Linked DNA regions of Homo sapiens: region 1 is linked to region 2. The links are contacts of gene promoters, found by promoter capture Hi-C in blood cells and fetal thymus (Javierre and others, 2016). All regions are on one chromosome and are shown on one strand. The core of a region is centred on a gene start or on the middle of the fragment in contact, and the rest is flanking DNA. Distances in the headings are between cores, read along the strand shown. Region 1 has its middle 36 kb from the start of ARHGEF4. Region 2 holds the start of GPR148 (G protein-coupled receptor 148).

Evidence for each region. The method cuts DNA at HindIII sites, captures the fragments that hold promoters and counts their contacts. A CHiCAGO score of 5 or more calls a contact.
Region 1: a fragment that was not itself captured here is called in contact with the fragment with the promoter of GPR148 in region 2 in 3 of 17 cell types (total CD8 T cells, total CD4 T cells and non-activated CD4 T cells); the score reaches 7.9 in total CD8 T cells.

The regions. Positions count from the first base shown.
Region 1 is chr2:130,798,547-130,803,827 of GRCh38, forward strand. No RefSeq gene overlaps it. Among named protein-coding and RNA genes, the nearest start is that of ARHGEF4, 36 kb to the right of the region's middle. The HindIII fragment of the contact is 204 bases long and covers 2,138-2,341 here.
Region 2 is chr2:130,726,335-130,731,564 of GRCh38, forward strand. GPR148 (G protein-coupled receptor 148) reads left to right here and starts at 2,736. Exons shown (of 1, transcript NM_207364.2): 1 at 2,736-4,002. The coding sequence starts at 2,818. The coding sequence ends at 3,861. RefSeq lists enhancers at 458-985, 1,307-1,886, 1,887-2,465 and a silencer at 1,369-1,538. The HindIII fragment of the contact is 6,760 bases long and covers 1,934-5,230 here.

The sequences.
Region 1 (5,281 bases), core at 990-3,489, 72 kb after region 2:
CCTTGCTGTGGCCAAGGCCGCCCTCGCTGAGTCAGCTGGCATTCCCACGACTCCACGAGTCCCCAAAGGGCTTGTCAGAGCCCAGCGGCACCCTCGCCCTGGAAGTGCCCTGCGTCCTCCTCAAGAGCCTTATTTGGGACAGAGATCAGATCAACCGCGCCACCACCCTCCCACCCACCTTCCACATGTGATAGGGTCGCAGGAATGGGGAGCCTCGCAGAGGCGCGGCGGCAGCTCTCGCCTGCCAGTGACAGCCCACCTCCCACTTTAAAACAGGACGTTCCGAGTCCTGGTTCCACATGTTCAAAAGGCCGTGGCATGGGGGAGTGGGCCTACACCTGAGCTTTGGCTGCGAAAACACTCATTTCAAGGATAGCTGCTAGGCGCTGCCTTCCCCCATCCCCCTGCTGTTGGCCCCCATCCAAGCATCTCCAGCCTCTGCCAGGCCCTGCCCCCTTCCCCGCCCTCTATGGCCCTGAAGTGGGAGCCGGCTCAGGGCTGCAGGCTGCCTGCTCAGCGCCGGCACTCGCAGGCCCATCCCTGCTGTGAGCAAACAGACCAGTAGCATCCCTGAGACAGAGATGGACACCACTCCTGGGTAGGAGGGCAGGCTATGGACATCCGTTGCTGGAAAAGCTGGGAAGAGGGCTGGCAGTGGAGACGCTTCAGGTGCACCGTGTGGACAGACAAGGTTGCAAGTGATGCTGGTCCTCAAGGTATCAGGTGTGAGTCATCCCAAAAGGACCCTGCCTAAGAGGGTGGCCTGTCAAGAGGAGCCTTCTGGGGGCACAGCAGGGCCAGGAGTTGAGACATAGGAGGTTGCCCAGAAAGTGTGGGATGCAGCTTAGGCAAAGTGCAGAGGGTGAGCCCCATATCTCCCAAAAGAAGACCACAGATGCCCTAGCCTCTCTCCCCCACGCCCTGTCAGGGCCACCATGAGGGATGACCCTCTGTAGCCACAGGGTTGAAACTGCTGAAAATCAAACACAAGTCCTCACCATGTGACTGGCTGAATTACAGCAAAAGCTGAACTCCCAGCCTCCCAGGATGTCTACTATTAAAGTGAGGGTATTGATTGGGAGAGGATGACAACCTGTAAATTGGGATGGGGGTGTATGGGAATATCCTGATGAAACTGGGAGACATTGAGCTCCTAAATTCTGATGAATTCTCTTTGCCCACGGGAGTTGTCTTCCCATCCACAGCAAAACTAGCCTCCCCATCCCCAGGGGAAGCAGCCTTCACACCCTTCGTGGTGTTGGCCTTGGCCTGAGGAGATTAACCCTGCATTGCTGGAGGAAATGATAAAGACCTCCCCTGAGGCAGTTGTCATGCAAGACAATGCTGAGTTTCCTTAGGACCCACCTGTCTTTACTAGACCTATAACTAGACTCAAGGCCCAGCAGGCCCCCAAAGGTGAGGACATAGCAGGACCCAGGAGGAGGTGTGCCACAATCCAAAAGAACTACTTGAGTTTTCTAATTCATACAGGCAGAAATCCAGTAAATGTGTGGAAATGGATCTTAAGGATCCATTAAACATGCAGGATAATGGTGGAAAGACCATAAAGTCGGATCAGGCCAAATGTATTGATGTGGGCCCACTAAGCAGAGATTCTGCACTGAATGCTGCAGCCCTGGGCGTGTAAAAAAGACCTAATAGTTTAGTTGGTTAGGGGAAACAGATTAAAAGGCGGCCTACAATGAGCAAGTTGGAGGTGCCAGATATCCCTTGTTTTAATGTAGAGGAAGGGAATTGAAGAGATTGGAATTAGAGTAGATTTGCCATTTTAGACATACTTACCCACACTAGTCCAGACACACCTTTCACCAATATTGTAAGAAATGGGTTTGTGAGGGGAGCCCCAGCATCCTTCAAGAGCTGTTTCATTGCTTTTCTCTCTGGGCAGACCTTACAGTGGGAACCACAGTCACTCAATTGGAAAATTAAATGCAATGACAGCAACTGATCTCAGGGTGGGAGGAGCCAAGAGGGGAACTCAACCACCTAAGACAAGGTGGGTGTGACTACCATAATGGACAGAAGAGACAAAGTAACAATCAGAATAGTCTGACTTGTGTGAATATGTGATGTTGGATAGTTGATTATGGCGTTCCTAGAAGTGAAATAGATAGGAAGCTTGTACTGAAGTCAACATTAAAAGGTAGAGACAAATCTCTAAATATAACATTTTATTTGGGATATAAGAATTGCAATTTGGGTCATACACACAGACCAGGTGTTTTTCAGTATGTCCAAAGAACAAAGAGCAGGTTGGGGATTTTATAGAATAGAGGAATGTTGCTCGTGGTCTTGAGAGAAAGTTTATTTGTATTAGTAAAGCTTTGGGACTAGCAAGCTGATTGGTGAACGATAGCAGTGGACACAATGAGCCCTACATTGGCGGCAAGATATTCCACAAGCTATAGACAAAACTGGTCTCAGGTTACAATAGACAGTTTTGGCTGCTGGACTTGCAGAAAATTGCATTTCTGAAGCGATGTTATAAATCCTGAGTGTTTTTCCCTCCTTGGCCCTCAACTCAGATTTAATTGGGTGTGACAAGAATCACACATTTATGATCAACTTTCATACCTATTAAATTCTTAATCTGTATAAGCAGAAAACTTCCAGGTCGAGTTAACAAAAATCTTACTTGAATCATGAAAATAGAACATCATGGTCCATGCAGGGGAAGCACAGTCCCCTCCAGAAAGGATCCTGTATGCTATCAAAAACCTCTACTGTTAATCTTTCTCTCAGCCTTCCCTAGAGAGACCTTTGACCTTTTACCAGGGTCATTGTGTACTAGGAAAAAGAAAATAATCAGACCTCTCAGGCACTCTGGGACACTGGCTCTGAACTGACATTCATTCCAGAAGACCAGAAGCATCCCTGTGGCCCTCCAGGGGCTTACGGAGGTCAGGTGGTCAAGGGAGTTTTAGCTCAGGTCCATCTCACAGTGGGCCCATTGGGTCCCCAGGCTCAGTCTATGCGGTTATTTCCTAAGTTCCAGAATGCATAATTGGAACATACTGTCATGTGTCACTCACCGAACGGTGGGGATACAGTCTGAGAAGTGCATCATTAGGTAATTTAGTCTTTGTACAAGCATCATAGAGCATACTTACACAAATCTAGATGGTATAGCCTCCTCCATACTAGGCTATATAGGATAGCCTATTGCTCCTAGGCTATAAACCTATATAGCAGGTTACTGTACTAAATACTGTAGGCAACTGTAGCACAATGGTATTTGTGTATCTAAACATAGAAAAGGTACAGCAGGCCGGGCGCGGTGGCTCGTGCCTGTAATCCCAGCACTTTGAGAGGCCGAGGCAGGTGGATCACCTGAGATCAGGAGTTCGAGACCAGTCTGGCCAATATGGTGAAATCCTATCTCTACTAAAAATACAAAAATTATCTGGGCGTGGTGGGTGGTGGGTGCCCGTAGTCCCAGCTACTCAGAAGACTGAAGCAGGGGAATCACTTGAACCCAGGAGGTAGAGTTTGCAGTGAGCCAAGATTGCGCCACTGCACTCCAGCCTGGGCGACAGAGTGAGACCCCATCTCAAAAAAAAAGGAAAGAAAAAAGAAAAGGTAGAGCAAAAGTATGGTATTATAATCTTATGGGACCACCATCATATATGCTATCCACCATTGAGCGAAATGTTATGTGATACGTGGCTGTACTTAGTAGCTAGCAGAGTACCATGTTGGTTCCCTGAGGACTCTTCTGATAGGCAAATCCAAATGAAAGCCACTGAAGCTGCCTTTGCCTAAGAAAACCAAAAGCATTGCTGCATTCTAGAGAGACTGCAGAGATTCGGAGATTAGCACCAGCATCAAGGACTTAAAAGATACAGGAGTGGTGATTCCCACCACATCCCCATTCAACCCTCCTATCTGGCCTGTGCTAAAGAGAGATAGATCTCAGACAATGACAGTGGCTTCTTGTAAGCTTAACCAAGTGGTGACTCCTATTGCAATTGTTGTACCAGCTGTGGTTTCACTGCTTCAGCAAATTAACACAGTAAGCAGCTATTGATCTGACAAATGCCTTTTTCTCCATGTCTTTCTGTAAGGTTCACCAGAAGCAGTTTGCTTTCAGCTGGCAAGGCCAGCACTACCCCTCCACTGTCCTACCTCAGAAGTATGTCAACTCTACAACCCTATGTTATAAATTAGATTGCAGGGATCTCAATTTCTTTTCCCTCCTGCAAGATAGCACACTGGTCTATCATGACACTGATGACCTAGTGCTGACTGGACCATAAGTGAGAAATAGCAACTACTCTTAACTTACTGGTGAGATATTTGTGTGTCAGAGGCTGAGAGAGAACTCTAACTGAAATTCAGGGATCTTCTACCTCAGTGAAATTTCTGGGGGTCCAGAAAATGTTGAAAATATCCTTTTTCTCTTTTTTAAAACTATCTGGAGATATGAAATATCCTTTCTAAGGTGAAGAAAGAATACATGATTGCATGTGGCCCCTCTTACAAACTAGAAAAAGACACAATTACTAGCGGGCCTACTTGGATTTTGGAGGCAACATATTCCTCATTTGGGTGTGTTACTACAGCCCATTTATTGAGTGACCTGAAAAGCGGCTAGTTCTGAGTGGGGCCCAGAACAGGAGAAGGCGCTGCAACAGGTCCAAGCTGCTGTGCAGGCTGCTTTGCCACTTGAGCCATGTGACCCAGCAGATCTAGTGGTGCTCAAGGTGGCAGTGGCAGACAGGGATGCTATTTGGAGCCCCCATAGGTGACCCAAAGTGCAAGCTCTTAGAATTTTAAAGCAAAATCCTGCCATCCTCTGTGGATCTTTTTGAGAGACAGCTCTTGGCCTGCTACCGGGCCTTAGCAGACACTAAACACTTAATCATGGGTAAACCAGTCACCATGTGAGCTGAGATGCCCGTTATGAACTGGGTGTTATGTGATCCAACAAGCCATACAGTTGAGCAGGCATAGCAACACTCCATTATCAAGTGGAAGTGGTCTATACATGACTGGGCCTGAGCAGGCTCTGAAGACACAAGCAAGTTACATGAAAAAGTGGCTGAAGTGCACATGGTCCCCCTGCCTGCTGCACTGCCTTTTCTCTCTCAGTCTTCACCTATGGCCTCATGGACGTTCACATGCAAAATAATGAAATCAGGCCCTCTCCTTACACTAGATACAAAAATAACCCAAAATGGATTAAATACCTAAATGCAAAGTATTTACTTTAAGGCTGGGTGCAGTGGCTCACGCCTGTAATCACAGCACTTTGGGAGGC
Region 2 (5,230 bases), core at 1,486-3,985:
CTCTCTCAAAAGGTGACCTTAGGCAGGGCACTTAACCTCCCTGGGCTTCAGTTTCCCACAGAGCAGCATGTCATTTCTGTGAGTGTGCTCAGTGCCTGCACAGAAGGTGCTCCACGATGAGGCTGTGGGTGGTCACTGTTACCTCATCTCAGCCGGAGGACCCAGGAGCATGTCCATTCTGTGGTTTAAACATGTTTGCATTAGGCACGCCTACAGCCTCAGTTTACCTCCACCTTCCTAGAGGGCAGGGACACTCCAGCATCCCCAGGCTCTTGAAGGGCCACGGATGGCTGAGATTCAACTTCCAAAGTTATGTTCAGATTCACTAGCCTGTGCTGCACACCCACCCCGCGTCTGCACCCAAGGCCAGCAGGCCCGTCCTGACCCATAATGATTACAGGAACGGGGCAAAGGAGTTAAAGGCTGCAGGGTCCTAACCAGGGAGGCCAGCTCTGTGACCCCAGAGCTGGCACTGGGTGACCCCACATCTGGGGTTGATTACAGTGTAGAAACTAAGGGTGGTTCTGAGAAAGCCCATCTTCCCTTTCGGAGAAACCGCGATGCCATAGGGCGGACCCCGCCTCCCTGTCCCCGCGCCCTGGGCTGCACTCCCTAGGGCCCCGGACTGCATTTTCCCAGGAGGGCAGCCTGGATAGGGAACCTCGGCAAGTGAGACCAAACTGATGTTCCCTTAGGGGCAGCACCCGCTCGGTGCTCTGAGATTGTTGTATGGGCTATTTAATTCCTAAGATGATTCTCAGCAGGAGGCAGGCTCTGTATCATCCCAGCGGCTTTTTCACCTTGGGAGTTTCGCGCTTTCCGATTCCATGAAGTTGCTGCTTGTCACCCCGTCACCGGCTATAAGGATTTAGCTCACAACCACATTTTTACTGAGGGATTGTCATTTAACGAGTTTCCCTCTCCCAGGGAATCTGCATTCTAAGACCCCAAAGGCCGGCGAGGGTCGTTGTGCTGGGCTGGACAGCAGAGAGAGGCTCGGCCTTGGCCCTCAGCCCTGCAGCACACAGGGCACCCGCGCAGAGAGCGTGGCCTGCGAATGGCTCTGCTGCCTCTCCCGGCCTGGGGCCGATTAGACCGGTCAGAGCATCTGTAAAGTACAAGGGGCCCCTAGGGAGTGCAGGCCAGGGCAGCTGGGGCAGGGAGGCGGGGTCCGCCCCATGGCATCGCGGTTTCTCTGGAAGGGGTGATGGGCTTTCTCAGAACCACCTTTAGTTTCTGTACCGTAATCGGCCAAAAAGGCGCAGGCGCTGCTGCTCCTGGCAGCTGCGTAACAGGCTCTCAGAGGAGGACGCGGTTCCGGGCTGCGGCGGGCGTGGTCCGGGGCTGTTCTGGGCGTGGTCTTTGGCTGTGATGGGCGTGGCCTTGGGCTATGGAGGGCGTGGTCCCAGGGCTGCGATGATGGTGGTCCGGGGCTGTGGTGGGCGTGGCCCCGGGCTGCGGCGGGCGTGGTCCCCGGGCTGCGGCGGACGTGGTCAGGGGCGGTTCTGGGCGTGGTCCCTGGGCTGCGGTGGACGTGGTCTCGGGCTGTGACGAGCATGGTCCCTGGGCAGCAGTGGACGTGGTCTCACACCCAGAGTCTGAAATTTCTGCCTCTTCCTGGCCCTAAAAATATCCTGCCTGTTCCCACGCGGCTCCTGCCTTCTGGAGCAGTCTGCCAGGCCGGCGGTGGGTGTTGGGCAGGGGTCTCAGGCTGCCAGCAGCCAAGTGCAGCCCGTTCTGCAGTGATGACAGGGATCTGTGGGCAGAGGGGACCGAGCCTCGGAGGATGCTGTAGGTGGGAGAGCTAACATTGACTCAGCATTTACTTCAGGCTATGCACTGTGCTGAGTCCCTTACCTCTGGGCTTCCGCAACGTTTCCCTGAGGTCAGTGTGGTTGGCATTCGTGTTTCACAGATAAGGAAACTGGAACAAAGCTTTTCAAGGCCACGCAGCCAACACCTCGAGAGAGCGGGAGAGCTTGTTCACTTGAACTGGATCCCCAAACACCAACAGCCACCCTGGCCACTGGCTCTGACTGAGCTCACCCCACCCCCGACAAGCCAGGTGCCTGGGGAACCTGCCTTCCATTCCTCCCCACTAGCTCCTATGAGGTCTCTGCCTGCCAGGCCTCCTCCTCCCCAGAGGAAGGGACGTTTCTACCACACAGCGACCCCACAAGTCAGCTGAGATTTTGGGGGCACCGAATACTCACATGGAGCCCTGAGTGGAAGGGGTGTAGGAGTCACACTCACACGCATGCACAGGGTCACCCTGAGCTGGAGACCATACCCAAGGCTCTGTGAGGAAATGTGAGTGCGCCCAGGCCCCTCCAGCCTGGTCCAATTTGCTGAGCCTCTAGCTCGACAGAGGTCAGACCAGGTCTACAGCCCAGCGATCCTAGTTCCAGACAGCTGCTCCTTCCTTTCTAGGAGGGCAGCCCGGAATATAATCCAGTGTGGTGAGAATCCATTGCACACTCCCTGTGAGCCAAGCAGACAGGTTTGGGGGCCACTGAGATAGGGGACACTTCTGGAGGGGTCAGTGACTGCAAAATGGTGGCAGTGGGATGATCTGTTATGTCTACCCACGCACATGCAGCTGCACAGTTGCAGAGATGTGAATGCAGGAAGCCAGGTGTGAGTCTGAATTCACATTGGTTTTTTTATCTTTATTAAGCAGTCATTCCTAAGGCCTGCCCGAGCCTGGCATCTCTACAGAGGAGTGGTGCCATCAGGACCCCTGTGGGGCAGATCAACACTCAAGGCAGGTGCAGAATCAACAACCTGTGACAAAGCCAGCCATCCCTGCCAGGAAGCATGGGGGATGAGCTGGCACCTTGCCCTGTGGGCACTACAGCTTGGCCGGCCCTGATCCAGCTCATCAGCAAGACACCCTGCATGCCCCAAGCAGCCAGCAACACTTCCTTGGGCCTGGGGGACCTCAGGGTGCCCAGCTCCATGCTGTACTGGCTTTTCCTTCCCTCAAGCCTGCTGGCTGCAGCCACACTGGCTGTCAGCCCCCTGCTGCTGGTGACCATCCTGCGGAACCAACGGCTGCGACAGGAGCCCCACTACCTGCTCCCGGCTAACATCCTGCTCTCAGACCTGGCCTACATTCTCCTCCACATGCTCATCTCCTCCAGCAGCCTGGGTGGCTGGGAGCTGGGCCGCATGGCCTGTGGCATTCTCACTGATGCTGTCTTCGCCGCCTGCACCAGCACCATCCTGTCCTTCACCGCCATTGTGCTGCACACCTACCTGGCAGTCATCCATCCACTGCGCTACCTCTCCTTCATGTCCCATGGGGCTGCCTGGAAGGCAGTGGCCCTCATCTGGCTGGTGGCCTGCTGCTTCCCCACATTCCTTATTTGGCTCAGCAAGTGGCAGGATGCCCAGCTGGAGGAGCAAGGAGCTTCATACATCCTACCACCAAGCATGGGCACCCAGCCGGGATGTGGCCTCCTGGTCATTGTTACCTACACCTCCATTCTGTGCGTTCTGTTCCTCTGCACAGCTCTCATTGCCAACTGTTTCTGGAGGATCTATGCAGAGGCCAAGACTTCAGGCATCTGGGGGCAGGGCTATTCCCGGGCCAGGGGCACCCTGCTGATCCACTCAGTGCTGATCACATTGTACGTGAGCACAGGGGTGGTGTTCTCCCTGGACATGGTGCTGACCAGGTACCACCACATTGACTCTGGGACTCACACATGGCTCCTGGCAGCTAACAGTGAGGTACTCATGATGCTTCCCCGTGCCATGCTCACATACCTGTACCTGCTCCGCTACCGGCAGCTGTTGGGCATGGTCCGGGGCCACCTCCCATCCAGGAGGCACCAGGCCATCTTTACCATTTCCTAGAGTTCTTGAGTCCACAGTCTGGCAAGCTGAGGTTAAAAATCATATGTTGAATGCAGCAGTGTCCACTTATGACTAACTTCTTAGAACAGCACAATATAATAGTGGAATTGGGCCTTTCAGAAGACCTCAACTGATGATTTTCACCATTTTGACAGTTTTTAAGTAGAGAAAGCTCTCTTATGACACTGAAATCCTACTTGGAAACGGAAGCAAGTAAAGGCAATCAAGCAGGGCTCTGGTCTAAGTCAAGCCTTGATCTGCGTCCCTCCAATGGCTTGCTGCACACCCTCCCTGGCCACTGTGGATGCATCCTTGCTGACCAACACACAGAAGCCAAAATGTTGCTGACAGTGAGAACCACAGAGGTAAGCAAGCAGAGCTGCTGAGTCCTGGGACCATGAGCTCTATCTGAGCAGCCGCTCAGGATGTGGGAGGGAGGAAAGGAAGCCAACGATCCACAGCAGTGGAGAGTGTCATGGAGATACCACTATAAAGCTGGAGTGTGCAAGGGTTACACTCTCACAATAAAGGTAAATGATAACCTAACCTTACAGAAGGGGTCAGCAAGGGAGTTTGCCTGCCTTGACTTTCGTGCTGTGTAGAAGAAGAAAATTCCTCGAGAATTCTTAAGTAGAAGCCACTCTTCAGACAGTTTTAGAGCTAGGCTTCAAATTATGTTAGTGGTAAAAAGACCTCAGTCTGTGGTTGGTGTGGTTCTCCTGGACGATCTGAGCTTCACCTTAGGCTGCAGAGAATTTCCAGAGTCAAAGAACCTCAAATAATGGAGTTGCACATGGTCAAATCTCACAAAACCACATAGGGAGATAAGGCACCATGAATGAGAGCAAGAAGAAACAAGAAGACAGCAGCGTCATACCACAGCTCCTTGAATTATCAACACTGGGTTAATATAAAAATGTTCAAGATGTTTTAAGACATTAATAATGACATGAAAATATGAGCAGGGATAATACTTTTTTTTAAATAACCAAGAAAATTTGGAAAATATTTAAATAGAACTTCTTGAAACAAAAATATTAGAATTATGAGTTGAATTTAATATGGATTAAAGAGCATGTTAGACACAACTGGAAACAGACTCTGCAAATTGTGAGAGAGGTCCAGATAAATTACCTAAAATGCAGCCCAGAGGGACAAAGAGACAACCATATAAAAGAGAGATTAAGAGACATTGAGGTTGGGATGGAAAAGACTAACATACATTTAATTTGGGAACACAATACAGAAAATGTAGGAGGGGAAATATTTGAAGCGATAACAGCTGAGGATTTTTTCAGATTTGTTTAAAGATATCAAACTTCAGATCCGAGAAATCTAACCAATCATAAATAAGATAAATGACCAATAA